Linked DNA regions of Homo sapiens: regions 2, 3, 4 and 5 are each linked to region 1. The links are contacts of gene promoters, found by promoter capture Hi-C in human tissues and cell types (Jung and others, 2019). All regions are on one chromosome and are shown on one strand. Each heading gives the region's core, a stretch centred on a gene start or on the middle of the fragment in contact. The rest is flanking DNA. Distances are from core to core; before and after follow the strand shown. Region 1 holds the start of THG1L (tRNA-histidine guanylyltransferase 1 like). Region 2 overlaps CYFIP2 (cytoplasmic FMR1 interacting protein 2). Region 3 overlaps NIPAL4 (NIPA like domain containing 4). Region 4 overlaps NIPAL4-DT (NIPAL4 divergent transcript). Region 5 overlaps NIPAL4-DT (NIPAL4 divergent transcript).

Region 1 (4,049 bases), core at 700-3,199:
ACTTCTACTATGCATTTCACTGCAAAGCAACCCAAAGCCAATTGGCTTATTTTATATTCAGCCCATCCCTGATAGGAGTCTCATCTCCCAGTGTGGGATGTGGATGGGGAAACCCTGTTTCTACAAAAAAAAATACAAATATTAGGTGGGCATGGTGGCACGCACCTGTAGTCCCAGCTACTAGGAAGGGAGGTGGGAGGTTCACCTGAACCCAAGAGGTCTAGGCTGCAGTGAGCTGAGATCATGCCATTGTACTCCAGCCTAGGTGACAGTGAGACTCTGTCTCGAAAACATACACATAAAAAAAATAAAAATCATGAATTCATATTGATAAGTAATTTTGAAAAATTCACCTAATGAAAGTAGGGCTCCTAGAGGAGGCAAGATTTGGTTGTCTCCTGGTCAGCTTGGAGAGAGGAGTTTGTGGAAGTAAAAGGTGAGGAATGATAACCTACAGAAAACTGACTTCACAGCAACAGAAACAAAGAAAAGATGCAGGATGTCATAATTTATGTCTTGGTCCTGCCACATATGTGACCTTATGTAAATTATTTTTTTCTCTTTGAGTCTCAGATTTCCCCTTTGTAAAGGTGAAATCCCAGTTCCTCTTTTGCATCCCTCTGATGTTACTCTGAGCATCAAAGGAGTGATGACTACCATTTGTGGTACTATTATGAGGATATACACACATACTGATATAGATCCCTGTATGGATACACAAAAAACTGGTAACAGTAACTGCCTAAAGTATGTTGTTAGGAGTCAGTGAGAGACTTTTTGCTACATATAAAAGGATTTATATTGTTTGAATATTTTTCTTTTTCTTTAGAGACAGATTCTTGCTCTGTCACCAAGGCTGGAGTGCAGTGGCTAATGATGGGTCACTGCAGTCTCGAACTCCTGGCCTCAAGTATCTTCCCACCTCATCCTCCCATAGCTAGGACTACGGGCATGGGCTACTAAGCCTGGATAATTTTTTTTCTTTTTTGTAGGAACAGGGGTCTTGCTACGTTGCCAAGGCTGGTATGAATCTCCTGAACTCAAGCAATCCTCCTGCCTCTGCCTCCCAAAGTGCTGGGATTACAGGCGTCAGCCACCGTGCCTGGCCTGAATATCTTTCTTGAGGATGGAAAAAAAAAAAAAGTAAGTAAGTAGGTAATGAATTTGAAAGAGCTTTGTAAATCACAAAGTATGACACAAATATTAGGATTTTATTTTTACTATTATCCACCAGCAACAAGATATCAAACACTGGTTCTGTGATTATTTAATGGTGAAAAAGTTGAATAAATCAATTTAGTATACCCATATGTTGGAATATTGAGTCCATTTTTCTTTTAAAAATCACACTTTGGAATAATTGATGATACTGGCAAATGCTCAAGCTGAGTGGAAAAATATATAAACATTGTATAGGCGAATAATTCCAATCTTGTGCATTCCCTGTGTAAACCTACATACACAAAAAGAAAAAAGACTGAAAGGAACCATCCACAATGCTTTGATGGGAAAGACGGAGAAACAAAGTGTTAATTTTCTTAACTATAGTTTTGGTGTATTCCAGATTTTCTACAAGTTAATAAATGCCACTAAGAAAAGGGGAAACATCACAGCTACACCTTCAAACACCAGAAAAAGAATTTTTTTTTTTTTTTTTTTTTTTAGGTTGGGGTATGATTTTGATCTGGGCACTAACGGGGACACTGATTGCTTTTGCCAGTAAGTCAAGACCAGCAGATAAAAAATAATTTTTAAAAACCTCGTGAGACTGATTTGCCGCAGGACGGGAGGAGGAAGAAGCAAGCGTGGAAGGTGCTAACGGAGGAACCTAAACCTCCATCCTCTTTGCCTGGGAGGTTAAGAACTACAGGGAGAGGCGAGAGAGACTATGACTGCCCTACGGCTAGAGTAGCCGCGAAGAGAACACTTCCGGGGCGGGGCTATCTGGCCCTTTCCTTTCCGCGTGTAGAATGTGGGGCGCCTGTAAAGTTAAGGTTCACGATTCCTTGGCCACCATTTCCATCACTCTGAGACGGTACCTGAGATTGGGGGCGACCATGGCAAAAAGCAAGTTCGAGTACGTGAGGGACTTCGAGGCTGACGACACCTGCCTGGCACACTGCTGGGTGGTAGTGCGGCTGGACGGCCGGAATTTCCATCGGTGAGCGAGCTCGACTCGGGGCGTCGCGATGCGCCAGCGCTTCCGGGGAATCCAGCTTCTTCCCTTGCAAGTCCTCCCGCCCGCTCCAGTCACGGTTACCAGGGTAACGCGGTAGCCAATGAGTGCGCAGCATGGAGCATTGCCCCGCCCTGCGTGTTGGCTAGGACAGTGCCTGAACGCTGGCTGTTAGCGTAATTGAATGGGCGATGTGCTCCCGTGATGAGGATCTGGCTTGGAGTGCCCGTGTTAAGTGAACAGAGACTTGTTAGCAAGGACCTGTTGTTAAAAGTCACTCTCATGCACAATATTTAAGCTCTTAAGCCAATTGCCTAGCTATTCTGTTAGATATCTTTGAATGCTGACTGTTCAGAAGTCTGTGTAAGCCTTGCTTGTGGGCAATACTTAACGTCTGTGCTTCATTATCAGTAACAGGCCACATGGACTAGATTCAACAGAGAGTCAGAAAAAAAGAGAAGGCTGGGCGCGGGAGGCAGGAGGATCACTTAAGGCCAGGAGTTGGAGACCAAGTTTTTGTTTTTGTTTTGTTTTTTCTGTGGTTGTTGTTTGTGAAACTCCGCCACTACAAAAAAAAAAAAAAAAAAAAAAAAAAAAAGAGAGAGAGAGAGAGAAAGAAGGAAGAGAGAAAGAAAGAAAAAGAAAAAATTTAATTTGCCCGGCGCAGTGGTGCACACATGTAGTTCCAGCTACTGGGAAGGCTGAGGTGGAAGGATCGCTTGAGCCTGGGAGGTCAAGGCTGCAGTGAGCGGTGATTGGACACTGCACTCCAGCTTGGGTGACAGAGCAAGACCCTGTCTCAGAAAAAGAGGGAGGGGGAGAAAGAAATATAACAGAAAGATGGGAATTTAATCTTTGAAGAGGGCTGCATTGTTAATGATTATTATAACTAACATTTATTGAGCACTTACTAGGAGCTAGGTATGATTACTTTTATCTTCTCCCTAATCTTCAGGACAACCCAATGAGGTAAATATTCTTTTATTCCCATTTCACAGAAAGGAGAGTTGAGGCTTAGCATTTCTGTCTGGCTTTCTCAATTTCAGGGCAGGAAAAAAACTAAGTTCTTAAGAAAATGGATCAGGTTGTGGCTAGTTGAGCATTTGAGTTCACAGTGCTATTACATTATCTTCCTCCAAACAGCCTCTGTTATCTAGCAACAGAGCGTGTTGTTAATGACAGGCTTCCATCCATGCTTTCTTCCCTTTTTCCCCTGTGAAGGTTTGCTGAGAAGCACAACTTTGCAAAACCCAATGACAGCCGTGCTCTCCAGCTGATGACCAAATGTGCGCAGACTGTGATGGAAGAACTAGAGGATATTGTGATCGCGTATGGACAGAGTGATGAGTACAGCTTTGTGTTCAAGCGGAAAACCAATTGGTTTAAAAGAAGAGCCAGGTAATTCCATGACCTAACTCCTTTCTTCAGAATATTTCCTCCCAGCATCTGGTTTTCTGTTTATCTTAATCGCAGACTTACAGGCTACAGATGATGTCTGCAGTATTTGTAACTGCAGAGTACATGTATATTTCCTGTTTAGATTGTTGTACTTCCATCTGATAGCCGAGCATTCTGTGTGCCTCTTTTATCTGATTCTTTCCCCACATGCCCCATAAGATTGGTTTCTAGACTGACCTGGCATTGAACATTAAGATTAGAAACAGAGACTATAAGAATGTAATATTAACAATTCATAGGTTGGCTTTAGCCAGTGATAGTCTCTACGTGCATTGCATTACACTGTTCCTCAAGACAGATCTCATTATAAAATACACAAATCTGATATTTGATTTGGCAGTATTTTGAAACGCTGTATGGGAAACAAATCATATAATGAATTGGTTTTTTCTTTCTTTCTTTTTTTAATAGAGGT
Region 2 (4,063 bases), core at 1,287-3,786, 400 kb before region 1:
GTCATAGCTCACTGCAGCCACAAACTCTTGGGCTCAAGCTATCTTCCCACCTCCAGCCTCCCAAGTAGCTAGGACTACAGGCGTACACCACCACACCTGGCTAATTTTTTTTATTTTTTGTAGAGACAGATTCTTACTGTGTTGCCCATGCTGGTGTCAAACTCCTGGGTTCAAGCTATCCTCCTGTTGCAGGACTTTTTCTCAGTTCAGCTAAAGATGGGGTTCTTGTCTGTCCCATGACCATGAAAAATTAGGCTTGCAGACTGTTTAAAGGGTAGGTAAAGCAGGGTTTAATTGGGTGAAAAGGGAAAAAAAGGAGGGAAACAGGGACTCTCACAAGGCCAGAGTCCCTCAGCTAGAGAGCTTCCCGCCAGGCCGTTGGAATCCCAGGTTCCACACAAGAAGAGGAGGGGCCAGGCTCCTCCCTGCTGCAAACATCATAAACTTCCCGAGGCTCCACCTCAATGGACAGGCTGGTTGGAGTTTCTCCAGGAAACCCCTCCCACCTGGCAGTCTCACTCCCACCTTGGTCCCCCAAAGTGCTGGGATTACAGGCATGAGCCACTGCACCTGGCCAGTGTGAATTTTAAGTAACTTTTCTCTCTCTCTCTTCATCCAGCTGTTGGGTAGATCAATTGACTTGAACAGACTCATTACCCAGCGCATCTCTGCCGCCATGTATAAATCCTTGGACCAAGCTATCAGCCGCTTTGAGAGTGAGGACCTGACCTCCATTGTGGTAAGAGTCTGGGAGCGTGTGGGATTTCTGCTCTGTGATTTCTCAGACTAGAAGCCTAGATGGGGACTGTAGTTAGTCTAGTGCTGGGCCAGTTAAAGAGGGGCAGTGAGTCTCTTTCCCATCTGAATGGAGCTGGGAAAGAAAAACTTACACAGAATAAGAGTAATCTTACGTTCCTGATTGCCTTGGGAACGATAGCATGGAGGGGGTCTCCTTGAGATTTCTAGAGATGGCCAACCCTCAGACACAGCTGCATGTCCTTAGGATCCTGCAGGCTGAGCAAGTAGGTGAGGGGTCCTAAGAAGCTAGGGAAAATTGCACAAGAGGGTTGGCTTCACAGGTGTGCAGTAGTATAAGGCCCAGAAGGGCTTTGCAGCTGGTTTACCATTCTGCTTCACTATCTTGAAATTCTTAAACAAGGGGGCCCCACATTTTCATTAAACATTGCACCCTGCAGATTATGTAACTGGTTCTGATGCACAAGCCTGGAATAGGCCTACTCCTTTCTCCCAGAAAACAGCAATTAAAACGACTCTCTGCTAATTCTCTCTCTTCAAGAATTAGAGTAAACTTGACTGGTTGTTCTTTCAGTGAATCAAAGGAAGATTTCAGTGCCTTCAAAAGCGAATGAACAGAAGGAGTGGGAAATGGAAAATCACCGTTAGAACATAATAAAAATTGTAGGCAAGATCTGTCAATGGTTGCTAAAATAAGTGGGCAGAACTTTGAGAAAAATACTGCATGATTTCTCTTATATGAGGTTCCTACAGTAGGCAAATTCATGGAGACATAGGGTAGGTTGCCAGGGAAGAGGAAGATGGTGTTTGATGGATACAGAGTTTCAGTTGGAGAAGGTGAGTTTCACTTCTAGAAAAGGATGGTGCTGATAGTTGCACAACCATGTGAATGTACGTAATGCCGCAGTACACCTACAAATGGTTAAAATGTTCAATTTTATGTACATCTTACCACAATAACAAAATTTTTTTAACCAAAAAATCTTTGAGAAGAAATAGGATACTTGCATAGTCTCAAAGTATCTCCCCCAAGATGTTTATTAATTACAAAGGGAAGAATGACTCTACAATGGAGAAAATTAGCAGACACCATCTTAACCAAGTATCAAAGTTAATATTACCAGTAAGACATATTATTGTTATCAACATATATTCTTGCCAAAATGCACAATCTCAATCTAATTATGAGAAAATATCAGATGAACCCAAATCGAGTTCCATTTAAAAAAAAAAAAGTGAATGATACTTTTCAAAAGTGCGCAGGTCTTGAGAGACAGGAAAGACTGAAAACTGTTACAAATTAGGAAAGAATAAGGGAACCTGACAACTAAATGCAACATGGAATCCTAGATTGAATCTTAGAACAGAAAAAGGACTTTAGTGGGAAAACTGGTGAAACCTGAATAAAGCCTGTCATTCAGCTAATAGTGTTGTACCAAAGTTAATTTCCTTCATTTGATGATTGCACTATGGTTCCGCCAGATGTTAACAGTGGGGAAGCTGGGTAAAGGATATGCAGGGTATGCTGTTTTTACAACTTTTCTGTAAGTCTAACATTATTTTTAAATAAAGTTGGTTTTTATTTTAAGTGGACAAAGTATAAAAATAAAGTGACAGTGAACTGGGACTCTAACATCATACCTAGGGTCCCAGTCCTCTCCCTGCTACTTACTAGCTGTGTGATCTTGTGCAAGTTACTCAGCTTCTCCAAGCCTGTTTCCTTATCTATAGAAATGGAGGGAATATCAGAATCCACCTCTTAGGGTTACTATAAGGATAAAATGAGATACTACCTGTTTTTTTGTTTGTTTGTTTTTGTTTTGTTTTCTTTTGAGACGGAGTCTTGCTCTGTTGCCTAGGCTGTAGTGCAGTGGCGTGATCTCAGCTCACTGCAACCTCTGCCTCCAGGGTTCAAGCAATTCTCCTGCCTCAGCCTCCTGAGTAGCTGGGACTACAGGCATGTGCCACCAGGCCCACCTAATTTTTGTATTTTTAGTAGAGATGGGGTTTCACTATGTTGGCCAGGCTGGTCTCAAGCTCCTGACCTCGTGATCTGCCTGCCTTGGCCTCCCAAGAGTCTTTTGTATACATAGTTAGCACTTAATAAATAATAGCTTATGGAAAAAAGATGAGAGAAAAATAAATTTGGGGCTGCAATGCAGTGATTTTGGGTGATTTCTTAGGGCTTGACCTACCCACCCACCTAAGTCCTGGGTCACTTACTCCAGGAGACTGTAGTACAGCACACATTTTTCTGAGAAATCATTTGGTCACCTCTATTTTGAGAAACAGAGTTATTCTTTATGCCAAATGGTTAGCAGTGATTAGCTCCAAGTGGCGGGATTTTTTTTTCTTTTTTGTTTATCTGTATCTTCTAGTTTTCCAATAATGAGCATATCTTATGGGAAAAAAAAGATTTGGGATATGTGTGTCTCCATGGCCTCTTCCCACCTGTCCAAAAGCACTAAATGTTCTTTTAGCTGGGAACAAAATCAAAACAAGCAGTGAAAGCCCTTGCTTATCAGGCGAGGGCAGTGGCTCCCCAGAGAACACCAGTTCCTGGGAAGCCCATGAAGAGACCTCAGGGAAGCGCTCTCCGATGGGTCTGGATGGCCCCTGCTCGCCCTGGCTGAGAAGCTTCTACCTCCTCCAAGAAACAAAATGAGGAATGAGCTCCCCTCAGCCTTTCCCTCCACCTGAAAAACTCCATTCTGAGATGGGGAGGCAACTTGATTCTGAGTTGGGAGAGGTTGCAAAGATTTGGGGAGTTAGTCACCCTCATTTTACACAGCTGAGCAAACAGAGTCTCAGCAAGACCCGATGCTGAAGTTGAGAACGGGCAGCCCGCAGGCTGTGTTTTGTTTAGGCAGCATAGTACATTTGTAATTTTGAGCCAATGTTTAACATTTGGAAGAAATCAAATAAAACTGCAGAAGCTCTGGCAATGCCAGACCAGCATTCCCAGATGGTAACGATTGCCCATAAATGACTAGAAGTTCCTGTGAGATGGGCTACACTTTCTTCAGCTTGCCACAGCCTCAGTGGCAGGCTTCATTTATGTGTGTGACCTACGAGGCCTCACTGTACTGAGTTTGAGACCTTTGCTCTCTCACTTGCCTGAGGCCACAGAGCTGGTTGACAGTTGAATGTGGTTAACAATCAGGTCTTCTTTCGTTGATGAGCTCTTTCTCCCACTACTCTGAAGTTGCCCACTGGGGTGTTTTACTGCCCCAGTTCTGTTTCTCTGTGTTGCCCTTTAGTAAACCAGCCTTGCTGTGGAAAAGTGTCATCCTCTTAGGAGACCCCT
Region 3 (4,111 bases), core at 63-2,562, 270 kb before region 1:
CTCAGTTTAGAGAGCAAACAGGATGCCTTCCTTTAGAATCCAATCTTTCCTGAGACCTTCATGATGTGTTTATTAGAGGAGGGAAGGGACAAGTCTCAGGACCAAGAATCAGATATGCATGTCTGGTCTTGGTCTTACTTCCCACCAACGTCATCACAGGCAAGTCACAGCTTCTCTGCAAAATGGGAATAGATACTTCTGCTCAGAACAATGTCAGACGCTGGTGTGCCCTCACTTAGCATCCAATTGAGCTCCCTTCTGGGCTGCCAAAAAATGGTGAACTGTCTGACCCCAAGGGATTTGCTTGTTTGGAAAATAAGATGTTTTTCCGTGAAACAGTGCTTGAGAAAAGGAATCCTGTGCAAAATGACTCATTCATTTAATCACCATTTATCACATGCCTGCTGTATGCCAGGGACAATGCTAGACATGGGGATTCAGTGTCCTCGTGGAACCTTCAGTCAAGTGGAAGAGACAGATGAGTCAATAGGCAGTTGTTTTATCATGTGTTAAGTGCCATCATGGGGAAAACACAGCCTGCTATGGGGGAATATTTTGGAGGGGTGTGTAAAGCCCAGACTTGGGGGATTAGGGGAGGTTTCTCTAGAAGAGATGATCTCTAAACTGAGACCTAGATTATGAGGAGACAGCAAGGTAAAAGGGGAAATAGGGAGACAGTGTTCCAGGCAGAAGGAATAACACGTGCAAAGGCTCAGAGGTGAGAGAACTTGAGTGATACTAGAAATCGAAAGTCATTCAGAATGGCAGGAGCAGGAGGGGTGCATGGTGAGTGAAGGGCCAGCTCATGAAGGGTCTTGTAAATGGAAGTACAGAGGCTGAGTGCAATTGTTAAGTGACTGAAAGGTTTTAGGAAGGCGAGTGACACAGTCTAATTTGCAATTTGAAAAGATCCCTGGTTGCTGGGTGAAGAACGGATTAGGGGACAAGCCTGGAGCCTGGGAAACCAAGTAGGTGAGTGAAAGGACAGAACTTGAGCCCGGGAGACGGAAATGGGAATGGAGACAACTGGTGGATTCCAAAGCTAGTTTTTGAAGGTAGAATTTACCAGCTTTGATACAGACCGGCTTCAAGCAAGGGAGGAGGGGCGGGGGAAGGAGTCAAGGATGACTCATGCTTTTGACTTGAGCAACTGGGGTGATGAAAGTGCTATTTCTTGAGATGAAGAGTGTAGAAGGAGGGACAGGTTTATGGGAAGATGATGCATTCAAGTTTGGACACGTTCAATTTAATGTTTTTGTGGGATATTGCACTTAGGAAGCAGACTATTAGGGTTCTAATTCTGGCTCCTCAATTCCTGGTGATTCAATTCTGGGCAAGAAAAGTATCTATTTCTATGCCTCAGTCTTCTCATCTATAAAATGGAGATAAGAATAGTACCAGCCTAAAGGGTTATAAGAAAATGCAACATAGTTAGAATCATACCTAGCACAGAGTAGCACTAGTATTGGTATTACTGTTATCTCAGTGAAAGGTTCCCACAGTTAGAGGTACTAGTGCACAGACTAGCACTAGTATTGGTATTACTGTTATCTCAGTGGGAGGTTCCCACAGTTAGAGGTACAGGTCTAGAGCCCATGTGTGCTGCAAAATGAATAGCTGTGAGGTGCAGAGATGAAGTCAGGAACAATGGTCATTGCCATTCCACCCTTCACTTCTAGACAAGTGTTGGAAAGGCCAGAGACCTTCCAGAGTGCCAGGGAAATTTCTGCTTGTGTTCAGAGAAGGTATCATTGACCATTCAGAAAGACAACTTCCCTGGAATCCATTTTTTTCTCCAATCTACTATTTCAGTATCTTCTGTGATTTCAACCCTTAGAGTAAAATGTTCTCAGAGTTCTTAACATTTATGGGAAATTCTGACCTTTTTAGGAACCTAATGAAAATAGGACACCTCTTCCTTAGAAAAGTGGGCATTCCCAAAAGCAACATAAATTTTTGGATTTTTATGAAACTGTCTCAAACCCATCTATCATCATCCATTATTATCATCATCGTTGTTGCTAATGTTACTGAGTATTGACTACGTGCCAGGTCCTGAACAAAGCAGACACAATTCCTGGCTTTGTGGAGCTTCCATTTTACTGGGGGAAATGTCATAAAATAAGAAGATCAACTAAAATTAAGAACAACAATGCCATGAAAGAGAAGAGCTGGGTGTTATGAGAGAACCCCAGCTGGGCACAGTCACTCACACCTGTAATCCCAGCACTTTGGGAGGCTGAGGTGTCAGGATCACTTGAGTCCGGGAGTTTGAGACCAGCCTGGGAAACATAGCAAGACCCCCATCTGTACAGAAAATTTTTTTCAATTAGCCAGGCATGGTGGCATATGACTAGTCCCAGCTACTCAGGAGGCTGAGGTGGGAGGATCCCTTGAGCCCAGGAGTTTGAGGCTTCATTGAGCTATGATCATGCCACTGCACATTCCAGCCTGGGTGACCGAGGGAGACCCTGCAGTGGAGGAGGGAGGGAAGGAAAAAGGTAAGGAAGAAAGGAGGGAGGAGGGAGGGAAGGAAGAGAGAGAGAAAGGAAGGAAGGAAAGGATGGTGGGAGGGAGGGAGAGAAGGAACTCCAACAGGAAATAATAGAAATCAGGGAGTCAGGGATGGCATCGTAGGGGAAGCAACATTCACACAGCAACCTGTAGAGTGAGTGTAAGTTTAGGCAAATAATAGAGTATTCTGGACACAGGGAAAGCATGTGCAAAGGCCTCGAGGCAGAAAAGAGCTCATCGTTTTTGGAGAGCTAAGAGAGAGGAGAAGAGTGGCAGGAGATGCACTTGGACAGGTGAGCAGGGCCAAAAGTATGCATGCTCTTGTTAAGGATTCTGGTCTTTATCCTGAGAGCACTCAGAAGCCATTGCCAGCCATAAGTTGCGGAGTGACATAATCTGATTTGCATTCTTAAAAGACGACTGGCTGCCATGAAAAGAAAAATAGGTTATTAAAGGGCCAAGAGTGGAACCAGAGTAACTATGAAGGAGGCTGTTGCCTCAACCTGAAGCAGGGATAACAGTGCCTTCGTGTAGCAGGTGGCAGCGGAGTGGACACATGCGAGATCTTTTTGGAGACAGAGTTATCAGGATGGACTGGATGCAGAAGGAGGGAGAGAAGAGTCAAAGAGCAATTCCCTGGTTTCTGGCTTAAGCAACTGGATAAATGAGAGTGCCACTTACTATGTTTCATTTGGCAGGTGGGTGGGGAACATTTAAAACCAAGAGCTCCATTTAGGACAGAAATTGAGATGCCTGTGAGGAATCCAAGAGGAGATGTGAAGTAAGCAGTTGGATATACACCTGGACTCAGAAGGAAGGTCCAGGCTACAGATATAGAGGCATCAGATATAGATGGTATTTAAAACTTTAGGAACAAATGAACCCACCCAGGAGAAGGCCCAGAACCAAGCCTCAAGGAGCAGCCCTTAGAGGCCGGGGAGTGAGCAGAGAGTTAGGAAAGGTACCTGAGAAAGTGTGGCCAAGTTCCATCCTAACTTTGTGTCCATTCCCTCCACAGTGGATGGAGGCTTCGGCTACCTGAAAGATGCAATGTGGTGGGCTGGATTTCTCACCAGTAAGTGGGTTGTTTGTTACTAATAACAGTGGCCTATTGATAGCAGGGCTGGAGACAAAGGGAGGGGTGGGTAGGGCATTTTTGTCTCTAGTATGGCAAGTGTGAATCTGAGGCCCAGATTCCCAGGGGAAAACCTTGACAACCTTTACAGGGAGAACATCTTACCATCAAAGTCAGTCTTCATCCATGAAGCGTCTACTCCCAGAGAGGTTTGCACAGAGCTGGCAACCATGAAGGTGTATTTTCTCAACTTGCCTTTAAACATAGCTCGATAATATCACTGCCTGTTGGTAGTGGACTCTTGACTTCTACATGGTAGAAGCTGGAACTCCTAGGCCAACTTCCCCCAGTCCGCAGGCAGTTAATGTGTTGGCCCACTTAGAACATAGCTGGTCCGTTACTTAAAGTTTGCCCAAATTTGCATACTCACACATTTCCCCCACTTTCCACCCACCCTCTCCTGCTATCAAACCCTGACTCTTTTAGGTGGAAAATTAACCAGGTTTCCATTCATAATCCCCT
Region 4 (4,030 bases), core at 512-3,011, 290 kb before region 1:
CCCCTCTACGCAAGCAGAAAAGTAAGCAGCCCCCAAGCCAGTTCACTTCCCATATGGTTTGATTTACTCTGATTTTCTCCGCCTGGGCTCCATTCTGGGCTGAGTCCGGTGGGATCACAGATACATCACTGTCTGGCTAGCCCACAGCTTCCGGCAGAACAGGGATAGGGGAGGGTTTTCCTGGGAAAATACGCTGTGAGATGCTATCCAAGTGAAAAATATGCAGCCCCCAAACTCCACCTTCATTAGCCAGAATAAAACCCAGGGATTTCTGCCTACTGGAGTTTCAGACTGACAGGAAAAGAGGAAATTAAAGAGTCCCTGGTTGGAACTTTTCTAATAGGCTTTCTGGCAAACAGCCAAACCCAGGAATGAGCTGGAGAAAGCAAACTGGGTTAAACTGTAATGGGGATGGGGCTGACCCTAGGCAGGGCAGCCTGGGTTCAGCCCGTCTACTAGCTACCACATAGTCTCATGTCATGTCACTCCGCCCATCCCTGAGGTGAAAATATCATCCCCATTTCATACACAAGGACTCAAAATTAGAACACAATAGAGGTTAAGCAACCACACCGCCTGCTCCCCTCCTCCTAACATCTCTCCCCTTCCCTCTCCCCACCTCCCCCTCCTCACATACCAAGGCCTTCCATCATCTTTATAATGCCTTTTCCTCCTGGAAGCCTGGGTTCCAGTTTATCTGTGAAATATTCTCTAAGCATCTGTCTTTGACCTTCTTACCTCTTATCAAAATTATAATTCAATGTTAATTGTGTGATCATTTAATGAATACAGTCTAGTAGTATAGGGACTGCCTGTCTTGCTCACCATAATAGTGCCAGTGCCATTCACAGCAGGTGACACGTAAGTGCTCCATTTATGTCATCTAAATGAATCCATTTCTGTCTCCTTCCCCTAAAATACAAACAACAAAAAAAACCCTGCCTTAAAACAGCAGCTGGCATAAAAGAAGTGAGTAAAGGGCTAATCGGCACTGACTGTAATTATTATGGATATACTATATTGGGCTGCAGAAAACAGGACTATGGAGGTAGGGCTGAGGCAGGAGGGACACAGAAAGGGACAGAGTCAGGGCTGAGCATGAGGTTTGGTGGTGTTAATTTTCTCTTTTGGAACCCTCCTCAACCAAGAATGCAGGCAGAAGAGAGTAACTGGTTAAGAGCTGGGTTGTTGAAAACCCAGCTCTGCCAGGAACTAGCAAGTTCTTAATCTTTGAGCATCTTTTTCCTTATCTTCAAAATAATAGTAACAGTGATAATACCTGCTTCTTGGGTTGTTACAAGTCATGAATGGTAATATGTATGAATTGCCTTGGCACGGTGCCCGGCACACTGTCAGTGATCAATAACTGGTGCTGATAGAGAGAAAAGGGTTCAGTCAGCTCATTGCACTTGTTTTTACCCTCTGCAGCCAGGTGTCAGTGCCCCGTTTCCTGTTTCCTCCTCTCCAACTCGGGTTTCCATTCAGGATTCCCCAGGGAAGGTGGAAGTATATCTTGGAAGATCTTCATCACCCCTAATCCCCATTCAGTCCAAAGCTATTTCCAACAGATTCAGGAATCAAAAAGCCTAGATGAGGAAGCAACAACCAGTTGGAGGGGACTATGGCAGAGCCCAGGAAGCCCAGAAGTGGGAAAGGGTCGTACCTGAGACCAGTGGGGAGAAGATCAATTTCTCCATCTCAGCCCCTCCTTGGCAAACTCTTTAGCTCTTAAGAACCCAGAGTTCATTCTCAGGACCTGAAGCCTGAGGCCAGGAGTCTCTGGATAGGTCTTCTATGTGTGCATCTCCCTCCCCAGAAGAGGGGAAGATGAGCCCGTGGGAGGCCTTTATTGCCTGGGGTTGACTGGTTACTAAAACTGGACTCACCTGTGACATGAGAGCTCGCCCAAACCTCAGCCCAGACCCGGATGCTTCTGTCCTTCCTCCTCCCTTGCAGAGGAGGATGTATAGGCAAAAATAAAAATAAAAAATAAAAATACACAGCACTGGGAGTCATGAAACTCACATCTCGTTCCAGTTTTTCTACTTTTTCTCCGTCTTTAAAATGGGCATAGTACCCCAGATGATCTCTAAGGACTCTTCCTGCCCTGGCAGTTTGAGATCTTCTGCACTGGAACCATGGATGGGAACCACAGCCTGCCTTGGGGGAGATGGCAAGGGAAAGGGAACCCAAAGCCCTAAAAGGAAATTTCTAACCTTAGGGGATCCGTGAGCACGCGCAAATTACAGGCACATATATATGTATTTTGCTTTACTTCTTCAGAAAACAGTGAGTAGTAGACAGCCTCAGATTCTCAAACTTCTGCTCTAAACTGGCAACATTTAAAGAGTCTATTTGGGAACTTTGGGGAACCCAGTACTCTCCTATTGGTGAAAATGAGAGAGGATGCAGCCCTGTTTCCTGACGCTGATGTAACGAATTACCACCAAATTAACAGCAACACAAACGTATTATCTTACAATTATGGACACCAAAAGACATAAGTCTCTTAACTTAGTCACCAGACGAGAATCAATGTGTCGGCAAAGCTGGTTCTTTCTGGAGCACCAGGGAACAATTCGCTTCTCACTGTTTCTTGCTTCTAGAGGCTGTTGGCTCTTGACTGCATCACTTCCATCCCCGCTTCCGTCCTCACATGACCTTCCCTGCTGACTCCGACCCATCTGCCTTCCACTTATAAGGACCCTTGTGATTACATTGGGTCCACCTGGAAAACCCAGGGCCCTCTCCCTGTCTCAGGATTTTTAACTTAATCACGTCTACAGAATCTCTTTTACAACGTAAGGTAACAAATTTGCAGGTTTAAGGGTCAAGACATGGGTGGGGAATGTGAATATTCAGCCTACCAGAAGCGCTTTGAATAGTCATATCCTTTAACCCAGCAATTCCACTTGCAGAGTTTATCCTACAGGCTAAACTGTATAAAGAGGTAATGTCCACACAGCAGAGTTTATAATATTTAAACCTGGAAACAACCTGTTCTACTGATAATCAGTAGAAACGTAATTAAATAAGCTAGCAATATTTGTACATTAGCATATTCTAAAAAGATGCAGTATTCTAAAAATAAGTATATTCATATGTACTAATATGAAAAAGTCTCTAAGTCAGTTGCTAGGATAAAAGCAACCTGAAATAAAAGCTGTATAATGTGACTCCGTGTTGTGGTATGCATATATAATTTCTGGATGTATATCACAGAATCTGTTAATGGTGGTGACTACCTCTTGTGTGTAGGATAGCCAGGGTACTTTTATGCTTCATTTTACACCCTTCTGAACTGCAGTTTATTTTTTAACCAATTATAACATACAATTTTAAAATTTTATGATTTGGCTGGGTGCAGTGGCTCACGCCGGTAATCCCAGCACTTTGGGAGACTGAGGTGGGCATATTACTTGAGGCTAGGAGTTTGAGAACAGCCTGGCCAACATGACAAAACGCGTCTCTACTAAAAATGCAAAAATTATCTGGGCATGGTGGCACACGCCTATAAACCCAGCTCCTAGGGAGGCTGAAGCAGGAGAATCACTTGAAGCCAGGAGGCAGAGGTTGCGGTGAACCAAGATTGCGCCACTGCACTCCAGCCTGGGCCACAGAGGGAAACTGTGTCTCAAAAAAAAAAAAAAAAAAAAGTCTTGCCAAATTTCTTTTGGTCATTCTGAGGGCTGGAAATGTTCCATATCTTATCTGAATGGTAGTTACGAGGGTGTATGCATATATGAAAACCCACTGATCTCCACACTTAACATTTCTGCACTATTCTCTGTGAAGTTCTGGTTCAATAAAAAATGCGCATTCAAAAATATAGGATGTTCTCCCCCCTTTGGCCAAAAACCAAGGGTTATTGACCTGTATCCTTCTGAAATTCAGTGCAAAAGTGATGTGTGCCTCTTTCTGGGCAAGTGTTGACCCTTTTTGTCAGATTCTTAAAGGGATTTGGAGCTCCTAAAAAGTTAAAAATTACCAGTGAGGGCCTTCCCTAAAATAAAGACCACTTACTTCTGGT
Region 5 (4,019 bases), core at 150-2,649, 310 kb before region 1:
CAGTGGGGGCAGGACAGTGGGTGCAGCCCACCTAGCATAAGCCAAAGCAGGGTGAGGCATTGCCTCACCTGGGAAGCCCAAGGGGTCAGGGAATTCCCTTTCCTAGCCAAGGGAAGGGTTGACATATGGCACCTGGAAAATCAGGTCACTCCTACCCTAATACTGCACTTTTCCAACTGTCTTAGCAAACGGCACCACCAGGAGATTATAGCCCAAACATGGCTCAGAGGGTCCCATGCCCAAGGAGCCTCGCTCATTTTTAGCACAGCAGGCTGAGATCAAACTGCAAGGTGGCAGCGAGGCTGGGGGAGGGGCGCCCGCCATTGCTGAGGCTTGAGTAGGTAAACAAAGCGGCCAGGAAGATGGAACTGGGTGGAGACCACCTCAGCTCAAGGCGGCCTGCCTGCCTCTGTAGACTCCACATCTGGAGGCAAGGCATAGCCAAACAAAAAGCAGCAGAAACCTCTGCAGACTTAAATGTCCCTGTCTGACAGCTTTGAAGAGAGTAGTGGTTCTCCCAGCATGGAGTTTGAGATCTGAGAACAGACAGACTGCCTCCTCAAGTGGGTCCCTGACCCCCGAGTAGCCTAAATGGGAGACACCCAGACTGACACCTCACACGGCCTGGTACCCCTCTGAAATGAAGCTTCCAGAGGAAAGAACAGGCAGCAACATTTGCTGTTCAGCAATATTCACTGTTCTGCAGCCTCCGCTGCTGATACCCAGGCAAACAGGGTCTGGAGTGGACCTCCAGCAAACTCCAACTGACCTGCAGCTGAGGGTCCCGACTGTTAGAAGGAAAACTAACATACAGAATGGACATCCACACCAAAACCCCATCTGTACATCACCATCATCAAAGACCAAAGGTAGATAAAACCACAAAGATGGGGAAAAAACAGAGCAGAAAAGCTGAAAATTCTAAAAATCAGAGCGACTCTCCCCCTCCAAAGGAATGCAGCTCTTTGCCAGCAATGGAACAAAGCTGGACAGATAATGAATTTGACAAGTTGAGAGAAGAAGGCTTCAGACGATCAAACTTCTCCGCGCAAAAGGAAGAAGTTCGAACCCATCACAAAGAAGCTAAAAACCTTGAAAAAAGAGTAGACAAATGGCTAACTAGAATAACCAGTGTAGAAAATTCCTTAAATGACCTGATTGAGCTGAAAACCATGGCACGAGAACTACATGACAAATGCACAAGCTTCAGTAGCCGATTCGATCAACTGGAAGAAAGGGTATCAGTGATTGAAGATCAAATGAATGAAATGAAGTGAGAAGAGAAGTTTAAAGAAAAAAGAGTAGTGCTCTCCCTCTCCCCACGGTCTCCCTCTCCCTCTCTTTCCACGGTCTCCCTCTGATGCCAAGCCAAAGCTGGACTGTACTGCTGCCATCTCGGCTCACTGCAACCTCCCTGCCTGATTCTCCTGCCTCAGCCTGCTGAGTGCCCGGGATTGCAGGCGGGCGCCGCCACGCCTGACTGGTTTTCGTATTTTTTTGGTGGAGACGGGGTTTCGCTGTGTTGGCCAGGCTGGTCTCCAGCTCCTAACTGCGAGTGATCCGCCAGCCTCGGCCTCCCGAGGTGCCAGGATTGCAGACGGAGTCTCGTTCACTCAGTGCTCAATGGTGCCCAGGCTGGAGTGCAGTGGCCTGATCTCGGCTGGCTACAACCTCCACCTCCCAGCCGCCTGCCTTGGCCTCCCAGAGTGCCGAGATTGCAGCCTCTGCCCGGCCGCCACCCCGTCTGGGAAGTGAGGGGCGTCTCTGCCAGGCCGCCCATCGTCTGGGATATGAGGAGCCCCTCTGCCTGGCTGCCCAGTCTGGAAAGTGAGGAGCATCTCTGCCCGGCCGCCATCCCATCTAGGAAGTGAGGAGCGCCTCTTCCCAGCCGCCATCCCATCTAGGAAGTGAGGAGCGTCTCTGCCCGGCTACCCATCGTCTGGGATGTGAGGAGCACCTCTGCCCCGCCGCCCCATCTTGGATGTGAGGAGCGCCTCTGCCCGGCCGCGACCCCATCTGGGAGGTGAGGGGCGTCTCTGCCCGGCCGCCCAGTCTGAGAAATGAGGAGCCCCTCCGCCTGGCAGCCACCCCGTCTGAGAGGTGGGGAGCCTCTCCGCCCGGCAGCCGCCCTGTCTGGGAGGTGAGGAGCGTCTCCGCCCGGCGGCCACCCCATCCGGGAGGGAGGTGGGGTTCAGCCCCCCGCCCGGCAAGCCGCCCCGTCTGGGAGGGAGGTGGGGGGTCAGCCCCCCACCCGGCCAGCCTCCCCGTCCGGGAGGGAGGTGGGGTTCAGCCCCCCGCCCGGCAAGCCGCCCCGTCTGGGAGGGAGGTGGGGGGTCAGCCCCCCACCCGGCCAGCCGCCCCATCCGGGAGGGAGGTGGGGGGTCAGCCCCCCGCCCGGCCAGCCGCCCCGTCTGGGAGGTGGGGGGCGCCTCTGCCCGGCCGCCCCTACTGGGAAGTGAGGAGCCCCTCTGCCCGGCCACCACCCCGTCTGGGAGGTGTACCCAACAGCTCACTGAGAATGGGCCATGATGACAATGGCGGTTTTGTGGAATAGAAAAGGGGGAAAGGTGGGGAAAAGATTGAGAAATCGGATAGTTGCTGTGTCTGTGTAGAAAGAAGTAGACATGGGAGACTTTTCATTTTGTTCTGTACTAAGAAAAATTCTTCTGCCTTGGGATCCTGTTGATCTATGACCTTACTTACCCCCAACCCTGTGCTCTCTGAAATATGTGCTGTGTCCACTCAGGGTTAAATGGATTAAGGGCGGTGCAAGATGTGCTTTGTTAAACAGATGCTTGAAGGCAGCATGCTCGTTAAGAGTCATCACCACTCCCTAATCTCAAGTACCCAGGGACACAAACACTGCGGAAGGCCACAGGGTCCTCTGCCTAGGAAAACCAGAGACCTTTGTTCACTTGCTTATCTGCTGACCTTCCCTCCACTATTGTCCTATGACCCTGCCAAATCCCCCTCTGCGAGAAACACCCAAGAATGATCAATTTAAAAAAAAAAAAAAAAAAAAGAGGATCAACAAATGGTGGGACTGTAACCTACAAGAGAAATGAGACTCTTTGAGTACCAGAGTGCAGTCTGTATTAAGCTTTTAAAATGTGTCCCACATAAAGATGGGAACAACAGACCCTGAGGACTACAAGAGTGGGAAGGGCAGGAGGGGGGGAGGGTTGAAAAACAACCTATTCAGGACTCTGCTTACTACCAGGGTGACAGATTCAATTGCACCCCAACCTCAGCACCCCAACCTCATACCCCAATATACCCACGTAACAAACCTATATGTGTACCCCCGAATCTAAAAGTTGAAATTTAAATAAAATCTGACCGAAAAAAAAATAATAATAAATAAATAAACAAATTTAAAAGCAAAAAAGAAAAAAAAAGAAAAAAGAGTAAAAAGAAACAAAGCCTCCAAGAAATATGGGACTACGTGAAAAGACCAAATCTATGTCTGATTGGTGTACCTGAAAGTGATGGGGAGAATGGAACCAAGTTGGAAAACACTCTACAGGATATTATCCAGGAGAACTTCCCCAACCTAGCAAGGCAGGCCAACATTCAAATTCAGGAAATACAGAGAACACCACAAATATACTCCTTGAGAAGAGCAACTCCAAAACACATAATCATTAGATTCACCAAGGTTGAAATGAAGGAAAAAATGTTAAGGGCAGCCAGAGAGAAAGGTCAGGTTACCAACAAATGGAAGCCCATCAGACGAACAGCAGATCTCTTGGCAGAAACTCTACAAGCCAGAAGAGAGTGGGGGCCAATATTCAACATTCTTAAAGAAAAGAATTTTCAACCCAGAATTTCATATCCAACCAAACTAAGCTTCATAAGTGAAGGAGAAATAAAATCCTTTACAGACAAGCAAATGCTGAGAGATTTTGTCACCACCAGGCCTGCCTTACAAGAGCTCCTGAAGGTAGCACTAAACATGGAAAGGAACAGCTGGTACCAGCCACTGCAAAAACATGACAAGTTGTAAAGACCATCGAGGC

What was found. Contacts are between HindIII fragments. The study calls those that stand out against the background at their distance.
Region 2: a fragment that was not itself captured here is called in contact with the fragment with the promoter of THG1L in region 1 in 3 of the 25 tissues and cell types used here (dorsolateral prefrontal cortex, hippocampus and spleen).
Region 3: a fragment that was not itself captured here is called in contact with the fragment with the promoter of THG1L in region 1 in 1 of the 25 tissues and cell types used here (H1 embryonic stem cells).
Region 4: a contact is called between a fragment that was not itself captured here and the fragment with the promoter of THG1L in region 1, in 1 of the 25 tissues and cell types used here (H1 embryonic stem cells).
Region 5: a contact is called between a fragment that was not itself captured here and the fragment with the promoter of THG1L in region 1, in 1 of the 25 tissues and cell types used here (spleen).

The regions. Positions count from the first base shown.
Region 1 is chr5:157,729,471-157,733,519 of GRCh38, forward strand. It overlaps THG1L (tRNA-histidine guanylyltransferase 1 like), which reads left to right and starts at 1,950. Exons shown (of 6, transcript NM_017872.5): 1 at 1,950-2,161; 2 at 3,398-3,574. The coding sequence starts at 1,971. RefSeq lists enhancers at 321-440, 471-550, 1,867-2,226. The HindIII fragment of the contact is 18,862 bases long and covers 1-4,049 here.
Region 2 is chr5:157,332,708-157,336,770 of GRCh38, forward strand. It overlaps CYFIP2 (cytoplasmic FMR1 interacting protein 2), which reads left to right. Exons shown (of 31, transcript NM_001037333.3): 21 at 620-739. Among named protein-coding and RNA genes, the nearest start is that of FNDC9, 11 kb to the right of the region's middle. The HindIII fragment of the contact is 4,356 bases long and covers 359-4,063 here.
Region 3 is chr5:157,463,517-157,467,627 of GRCh38, forward strand. NIPAL4 (NIPA like domain containing 4) reads left to right here. Exons shown (of 6, transcript NM_001099287.2): 3 at 3,533-3,589. Among named protein-coding and RNA genes, the nearest start is that of NIPAL4, 5.4 kb to the left of the region's middle. The HindIII fragment of the contact is 5,906 bases long and covers 1-4,111 here.
Region 4 is chr5:157,443,046-157,447,075 of GRCh38, forward strand. All of the region lies in intron 1 of NIPAL4-DT (NIPAL4 divergent transcript), which reads right to left. Among named protein-coding and RNA genes, the nearest start is that of NIPAL4-DT, 15 kb to the right of the region's middle. The HindIII fragment of the contact is 5,093 bases long and covers 1-4,030 here.
Region 5 is chr5:157,417,632-157,421,650 of GRCh38, forward strand. The region is part of intron 1 of NIPAL4-DT (NIPAL4 divergent transcript); the gene reads right to left. Among named protein-coding and RNA genes, the nearest start is that of NIPAL4-DT, 40 kb to the right of the region's middle. The HindIII fragment of the contact is 4,149 bases long and covers 1-3,474 here.